3 separate regions of the Homo sapiens genome follow, and all the other regions are linked to region 1. The links are contacts of gene promoters, found by promoter capture Hi-C in blood cells and fetal thymus (Javierre and others, 2016). All regions are on one chromosome and are shown on one strand. The core of a region is centred on a gene start or on the middle of the fragment in contact, and the rest is flanking DNA. Distances in the headings are between cores, read along the strand shown.

Region 1 (2,700 bases), core at 160-2,659:
GGCAGCCACCCACACGCCCACAATGAGCATGACCACGCGGCCACGGGGCAGGCGGCTGTGCAGCTGCACGGCCATCACACTGCGGTGCCGCTCCACGGCGATGGCCAGCAGTGTGGCCACCGACGCAGTGAGGCTTGTGTCCAGCAAGCCCTGCCGCAGGAACCAGCCCTCAAGTGAAAGTCGGGCTGTGCGGGGACCAGTGTGGAACATGAGGAAGAGGTAGGCCACGCCCGCGAAGAGGTCAGCCGCGGCCAGATTGCCGAGCAGGTAGTAGATGGGCTGGTGGAAGCGGCGGTTGGAGGCGATGGCTGCTATGACCAGCAGATTGGTCAGCAGCACCAGCACGCTGACGGTCAGCCCCAGTGCCACCACGACCACATCCTTGGGCCGCCAGTGGGAGCTGAGCTCTTTGCCACTGTTGTTATAGAAGAAGCCGATGGTCTCGTTGTAGTAGCACTGGCCCATGATGACCATCTGGGGACACAAGAGATCAGTGCATGTGGCACTTCTTGGAAGGACACAGGGAGGGGCGGCAGCTGCAGAGGAGGGTCAGCGCAGGAAGGACAAGGGTCTCAAATTCAGATACCTCGAAGCAAAGTGGCAGTGGTGAGGACTACGGTGGCCTGGAAAAAGCAAGCTCCATGGGGCTGGGGTGGAGGTGGAGGAGCAGCTGTTTCTTACCTACTAATAAGACCTGTGTGCAAGACATCACCCAAGTCAATAGGTTTTTGAACCAGAAGTGAAACAAAACCCATCTATGGTCGAATCCCAGCCCACCTGCCGCCAATGTGTGACCCGGTTTGGGTTGTGGGGAGAGGAGGGTTAGGGAAAGACAAAGGGGTGTGAGCTGCGGGAAGAGATGAGGGAGGATCACTTTGGTGCCGGAGTCAGTGTAGGGAGCAGAGACCCGGGAGCGTGTGCACACAAGGGTGAGGTCACTTGCTAGAACCCTGCGAGGGGGCGGTGCCGAGGCGTGGAGGTGATCGGAGTGGACAGAGAGGCGGCCCCAGAAGTTAGTCGGCGGGATTTGGGCGCGAGTGCTTCCCAAGCGGGCGGGGCAATAGGCTGTTCCGGGTGGGACGGAGGACACTGGCGGTCTCCGGGACAAAGACAGCGGTTGGGGAAGGGATGGATGGCCGGGCCTCCAGGCGTCTCCAGACTGGGGAAGGGGTAGGGGGTTAAGGGATCAGAGGGCGGCGTCCTGGCCCCGCAGGCACGTGCCGCGCCCTTCCCCCGGGCCCAGGCCCGCACCCGCCCGCCTCCCGTCCGTGCAGGCCTCACCTGGGCCTCCAGTCACGCCGCAGACAAGGCGGGCTCGCGGGGGTTCGGGGCGGGCTCGAGGCCCATGGCCCGGCGACTGCGGCGGGAGCGGTAGAGCGTCCGGGTGCGCCCTGTGCGGGTTGCTGAGAGGGCGCGGGAGGCGGGGTCTCCCCGGCGCCCCGCCCCCACCACCTGGGGGAGCCCTGCCCCGCCCCGCCACCTGGGGGAGCCCCGCCTCCACGGCCGCGTCGGGGGCGGTGTCGCCCGGAACCGCAGCCCCCCTGTTTCCTCCCCGCCTCGCGGCCCCTCAGTCGCCCCTATTTCCGGCGCGGGACCCCCACCCCGGTACCTGCACACCTCATGCGCCCGCAGTTTCGAGCCTGCGGGGCTGAGTCACTCGGCGACCCGAAAATTCCCGCCGTGACCCCGCGCTGCCCGGGCGGAGCTCCAGGTGGTCTTGGGTCCGCGCCCCCGCTCCGGACCCCCAACCCTCCCAGCCCCACCCCGCTCTCTTCTTCGTGTCCAATCGGCCGCCGAGTTACAAGCCACTCCCTGATCCGACTTGGCTCCCACCGCCCGGACCCCCGCCCAGCTTCGGCTTTGCCAGCTCGCAGTATCAGCGAGCCGCGGCCTCCTGTGCGAGGCCCACCTCTGCGGCCCCAGCTGATCATCGGGCGCACGCTAGGGTTTTGCAATCCCGCCCCCGTACCCCTCACCCTGGGACAGCGCTGCCCCCTGCAAAGCCCGGCCCTGCCCTGCCCTGCCCTGTGGCTTCCTCCCTCGGCCTCCCTGCGGCGGCCCCGGGCTCCCACGGTCCGGAGCACACAGCCCCATTGTCCCGGTTATCGGTACTTTGTTATACTGTATTTGATTATGCAGGACCGGATCGGGGACGCAGAGCTCCGGGAGGGCCGGGCTGGCGTGACTCAGCCGGGTGCTGCGACCCAGCTCCAACTGCCTTTACGTAGGTGCTGCAGGGTGTTTGATGATGCAAGAAGGAGGCCTTGAGGCCGGGCGCAGTGGCTCACGCCTGTAATCCCTGCATTTTGGGAGGCCGATGCGGGACGATCACGAGATCAGGAGATCGAGACCATCCTGGCCAACATGCTGAAACCCCGTCTCTACTAAAAATACAAAAAAATTAGCCGGGCATGGTGGCAGGCGCCTGTAGTCCCAGCTACTCGGGAGGCTGAGGCAGGAGAATCGCTTGAACCCGGGAGGTGGAGGTTGCAGTGAGCGGAGATCGTGCCACTGCACTCCAACCTGGAGACAGAGCAAAACTCCGTCTCAAAAAAAAAAAAAAAAAAAAAAAAAAAAGAGGCCTTGATTCCCCTAATCTGTAAAATGGGGGCAAGGAGTGCTACCCATGCTGGCCTCTCCCCTAGCAGAGATGCACCCAAGGGCATATAGGACACAGTTTATTAGAGGCCATCAGACCTC
Region 2 (2,700 bases), core at 63-2,562, 120 kb before region 1:
TCTGAAGGATAATAAATGGATGATGTGTCAACTGGACTTTTCTTTTGTCCCTTCTGCCCTGGCTTCTCTGTATTGTTTCGTCCTAGCTTCCCAGGCAGGTTGGAGGGAGATGGAGGATGACCCTTAGTTAATGAGAGAAGCAAAGGGCGGGGTGCATCTGCTGCTGGGGCCTCACTTACTGTGGGGATGGAGTCCCCACGGCCCCTCTCCTCTGGAGCTTTGTGGCAAACTTACCCCATGGGCTGGGAGAGAGGAATGAGAATCTCAGTGGGGGCTGGGTTTGGTGGCTCACATTTGTAATCCCAGCACTTTGAGAGGCTGAGGTGGGTGGATCACCTGAGGTCAGGAGTTCGATACCAGCCTGGCCAACATGGTGAAACCCCATCTCTACTAAAAATACAAAAATTGGCCGGATGTGGTGGTGGGTGCCTGTACCCCAGCTACTTGGGAGGCTGAGGCAGGAGAATCGCATGAACCCGGGAGGCAGAGGTTGCAGTGAGCCAAGATTGCGCCACTGCACTATAGCCTGGGTAAGAGACCGTGACTTTCTCAAAAAAAAAAAAAAATTCTCAGTGGAATTTGCTTGTGTTTGCTGCATCAGCCTTCACGCTAGAGTGGTGGGTTTTCCTGGAGCAATTTTCAGGCTGGGGGCCTCGATGGTGTCTTTGCTGCAGGATGTGATATTACAGATGTGCAATCTAAGCACAGAGTCACCAACCTGGATCCAAAATGAACGACGTCCTGGCAAAAATGTTTTCAAGTGTTGATAGTTTCAAGTTTTATTCTTAAGGTGAGACCTGGGATCATTTTGCTGAATTTTAATGTGCATAAAACATGACCCTGTTTTCCTAGGTGCTATTTATTTGAGGCAGGGTCTCACTCTGTTGCCCAGGCTGGAATGCAGTGGCTTGATCTCAGCTCACTGCAGCCTCAACCTCCCTAGGCTCAGGTGATCCTCACATCTCAGACTCCTCAGTAGCTGGGACTATGGGCATGCACCACCATGCCCAGCTAATTTTCGTATTTTTTGCAAAGACACATTTTTGCCATGTTGCCCATGGCTGGTCTTGAACTCCTGGACTCAAGCAGTCCTCTCACCTTGGCCTCCCAAAGTGCTGGGATTACAGGTGTGAGTCACCACGCTTGGCCGTTTCTTGTCTTTGAAGCATCCTTGCCTCCGGCCTGGGAGCTCATACCTTCCCCACAACTCCCAAGTGCCTGGTCTTATGGGCACAGAGCTGGTAGAGAACATGGTAGAAACTGAACCTCAGCCTGTCCAGTAGCGCGATCTTGGCTCATTGCAACCTCCGCCTCCCAGGTTCTAGCGATTCTTCTGCCTCAGCCTCCCGAGTAGCTGGGATTACAGGTGCCGCCACCAGCACGCCCAGTTAATTTTCAGTAGAGATGGGGTTTCACGTGTTGGCCAGGCTGGTCTCAAACTCCTGATGTGATCCACCGGTCTCAGCCTCCCAAAGTACTGGGATGACAGGCGTGAGCCACTGCACCCAGCCACTTTTTTTTTTTTTTTTTTTTGAGATAGGCTCTCTGTTGCCCAAGCTAGAGTGCCTAGAGGCTCTCTGTTGCCCAGGCTCAGGCGATCCTCCCACCTCAGCCTACCGTGTAGCTGGGGCCAGAGGCTTGCTACAGGCATTTCTTGCTTGGCCTGAGAAACATTCCTATGGGGTGCTGTCTCCTGGGCTTGGCTCTTGGTTCCTCGTGAGGCTCTGCTTCCCTGGATTGGGCACAGGCTTGTCAGTGCAGTTGGGGCAGATTCAAGGGGCGGGTCCTGGGTCATGGTCTCAAATAGCCTCTCCAGCTGAGAAAATGGGACACTCCCCTCGTCCCTGACATCTTGTCCCCGACATCTCATCCTCTCTGAATTGAGCCTTGGGTCTGTGGCCACATGGCAGGCAGAGACCCTGACCCCATCTGCTCCCACAGATTCGTCGGTGGACAGATGGCATGCACTATGCCCTGGGCCCCGGAGATGTGGCAGGAGCTATCCAGACAGAAACATATAGCACCTTGAGAGGAGGGCATGGGGTGACATTTTAGGCAAGGCTTGAAGAGGGGAAAAGTGCCAGGAGTGTGCAAAGGCTTGGAGATAGGAGCCAGCATGGCAGGTCAAGAACAAAAAGGGCAATGTGGTGGGACTGGGTGGGAAGACGGGGCAAGGGCGTGGGTTTTAGCTAAGTGCAGTGGGAGTCTAGGGAAGGTCCTGGGCCCAGTACTCAAGCTACGCCCACTCTGAAGCCATGCCCACTACCCCAAGGATGGGGTTTTGCCCATTTTCCAAGTGGGGAGTCTGAGGCATGGCCCCAGTCAGGAGCAGCACCCTTCGAATAAACCAGAGGGGCTAGGGGCTAGGTTTTATTTTATTTATTTATTTTTTCTTTTGAGGCAGAGTCTTGCTCTGCTGCCCAGGCTGGAGTGCATTGGTGGGATCTTGGCTCACTGCATCCTCCATTTTCCGGGTTCAAGTGATTCTCCTGACTCAGGCTCCCCAGTAGCTAGGACTACAGGTGCAAGCCACCCATGCCCGACTAAATTTTGTATTTTTAGTAGAGATGGGGTTTTACCATGTTAGCCAGGCTGGTCTCAAACGCCTGACCTCAAGTGATCCGCCTCCCAAAGTGCTGGGATTACAGGTGTGAGCCACCATGCCCGGCCCCAGGAGCTGGGTTTTCTACCTCCACTCTG
Region 3 (2,700 bases), core at 175-2,674, 110 kb after region 1:
CGTGACCCTGGGCCATGCTCTCACCCCTGCCCTGTGCTGTGTGGGACTCACTCCCTTACGCGGTGCCCCTTATGCCCTCGATCCCAAATCTTTCCAAAATTTTTGACAGCAATAGGACAGAGCCTGGCCTTGGAAGAGCCCCTGTGGGTGGGGTGGAGGGTGGTCTTCCATCCAGGTCTGTGTCCTAAGGTGGGTCCCTGCAAGAGAAGATCTCATCAACCCAGACTTTGGGTGCAGTCAGTGGGGGTCGCTGTGGGACCCACTGGACATATGGGATCTCTTGTCTGGGAGTGGGGTGGGGAGCCCTCTGTCCTTGGGCAGTTGTGGAAAATGATGGCGCCCCGGAGGGTTGGTTGGAGGGTGATGATCGTTCCTCCTCTTCACCGGGAACTGGGGCTCTTCCGCACAAGGCCCTTTCTCTGTTCCTTTACGGGCCTCGCCCTTTCTTTGTTCCGAATGTTCATGGGAAGGGACCCTCTGGAGTTCTCCAGGACCAAGTCATCAGAGTTCTCATTCTTTCTCAGTGACCCCGGAACACGAGGGTCCTTCCTGTATTGACAGCTCAGAACTTGGGATCCACTGTCCCTTCACCTGAGACATCTTCATGAGCAGAGAGGCTGCATTGACCCCAAACCAAGCACCCTCCCGTTTGGCTGATGTTATTCTTGAAGCGGCTTCACTGGCCAGAGGGAGTGGAGATGGGGGTGAAACGGAGCAGTCACGAGGTGTCTTGTTCCCTGTAAGAAACTGGGCATCTTCATGGTCCCTGCGTGATCCCAGGAGGCTGAGCATATGGAGCTCTCTGATCCCTGACCCCAGTCTACCTGCAGGTGTCTGAAATAGCGCACCACAGGCCCCTCACCCTCAGCAGATGGACACCGTTCCTCCCTTATGTGCCTGATTTAGGGCATTTGGGGACAATGGGCCTCTGTGTCCAGGTCCCCCTGTTCTCAAATCCTCAGGAAGAAGCCCACCTCTGGCTGGGGCAGGGACTCCAGAGACCCCAGCAGGCATGGGGACCCTAGATCTGGCCCCTTTTCACCCGGAGCGGTGGTGGCATGGGGTTCACCTGGCCGGCGGCGTCTCAGAGTTGGGTGGAAGCGGTTTGGGTGTTCTCTGTAGCACCCAGGTGCAGTGTGGCCTTTGGACAATGTTGTCTCGCAGGATGGACATGGAAAAGGATTACAGCTGCCCTGCCCGCGCAGGAGCGGGACATCATTGACAAGTGTGAGCAGGTCCGGGTCGGGCTGTTCCCTCGAGGGAGGCGAGGCCACCCATCTCCAGCTGTATCCTGGTCGGAGTGTCCTGGGCTCCCTCCGGATGCAGGGCCAGGACCAGCTGCTGGGAACTTCATGCCCCCACACCCCTCACCTCGGCCCCCTCACCCTGAATCCCCTCTGGGTCACAGGGATGCTGAGCAGAGGCACCTGCAGACGTGGGGCCTGAGGATATTGACAGCTACAAAGTCACCGATCACCTCGGGATTCGGCAGTGAGTCCTCTGTTCCCACCCTCACCACCCAGGGATGGGTTTTTTTTTTTTTTAGAAAGGCCTCACTGAGGCAGGACACATCTCCCCAGCTCGTGCCAATCTCCTTTCTAGCGTAGAAACTCCTCCCCTGTCAAAGTCCTTTAAATGCTCAAACTGCCTGCTTTGGATTCTTATTGAACTTATACTCCACCCTGTGGTACAGGGGCTAATATGCTGGGCCTTTACCACTTCAGCCCAGGTTCGATTCCTGGTCAGGGAACCAGTGCCACTTGTCTTAATTTGCATGACTCTTTACCCTTTGAGAGGTGAACCCAGAAAATCCGTGACAGGTCTCAGTTAATTTAGAAAGTTTATTTTGCCAAGGTTGAGGATGCACCCGTGATGGTCTCAGGAAGTCCTGACGACATGTGCCCAAGGTGGTTGGGACACAGCTTGCTTTTTTTTTTTTTTTTTTGAGACGGCGTCTCACACTATCACCCGGGCTGGAGTGCAGTGGCGCGATCTCAGTTCACTGCAACCTCTGCCTCCCAGACTCAAGCAATTCTCATGCCTCAGCCTCCTGAAAGGCTGGGATTACAGGCACCCACCACCATGCCCAGATAATTTTTTTTTTTTTTTGAGACGGCATCTCGCTCTGTCGCCCAGGCTGGAGTGCAGTGGTGCGATCTCGGCTCACTGCAAGCTCCACCTCCCGGGTTCACACCATTGTCCTGCCTCAGCCTCCCAGGTAGCTGGGACTACAGGCGCCCGCCACCACGCCTGGCTAATTTTTTGTACTTTTTAGTAGAGATGGAGTTTCTATGTGTTAGCCAGGATGGTCTCGATCTCCTGACCTCGTGATCCACCAGCCTCGGCCTCCCACAGTGCTGGGATTACAGGCGTGAGCCACTGCGCCTGGCCCACAGCTTGCTTTTATACATTTTAAGGAGACATGAGACATCAATCAATATATGTAAGAAGTACATTAGTTCTATCCAGAAAGGTGGGGACAGCTCAAAGCAAGCCCCCACCCCCCGGGGGAGGTAGATGGAGGCTGAGAGATCAGACCTTGCGGGGCACTTGGGGACATCAGGTGGGACAGGCCCCAGGTGCACCCTCAGTGCACTGGGCAGGTCTCAGGATCCTGGCCTGGTAATGTGGTCACTCCCTCGAGGACTGCTTTTGGGGCCCAGTCACCCACCCTGGGCCATACACGTCCTTTCTCAGGAC

The links. Contacts are between HindIII fragments. The CHiCAGO score rates a contact against its expected background, and 5 or more counts as called.
Region 2: a fragment that was not itself captured here is called in contact with the fragment with the promoter of LPAR2 in region 1 in 6 of 17 cell types (non-activated CD4 T cells, monocytes, activated CD4 T cells and 3 more); the score reaches 6.4 in non-activated CD4 T cells.
Region 3: a fragment that was not itself captured here is called in contact with the fragment with the promoter of LPAR2 in region 1 in 1 of 17 cell types (non-activated CD4 T cells); the score reaches 5.1 in non-activated CD4 T cells.

Annotation. Positions count from the first base shown.
Region 1 is chr19:19,626,811-19,629,510 of GRCh38, forward strand. LPAR2 (lysophosphatidic acid receptor 2) reads right to left here and starts at 1,410. Exons shown (of 3, transcript NM_001395660.1): 1 at 1,282-1,410; 2 at 1-474. The coding sequence starts at 465. GMIP (GEM interacting protein) reads right to left here. Exons shown (of 21, transcript NM_016573.4): 21 at 2,666-2,700. RefSeq lists silencers at 1,161-1,660, 2,031-2,160 and an enhancer at 1,798-2,700. The HindIII fragment of the contact is 41,803 bases long and covers 1-2,700 here.
Region 2 is chr19:19,508,897-19,511,596 of GRCh38, forward strand. It overlaps GATAD2A (GATA zinc finger domain containing 2A), which reads left to right. Exons shown (of 12, transcript NM_001384528.1): 12 at 1-36. Among named protein-coding and RNA genes, the nearest start is that of TSSK6, 5.3 kb to the right of the region's middle. The HindIII fragment of the contact is 3,522 bases long and covers 1-2,700 here.
Region 3 is chr19:19,739,719-19,742,418 of GRCh38, forward strand. No RefSeq gene overlaps it. Among named protein-coding and RNA genes, the nearest start is that of ZNF14, 8.0 kb to the left of the region's middle. The HindIII fragment of the contact is 6,926 bases long and covers 1-2,700 here.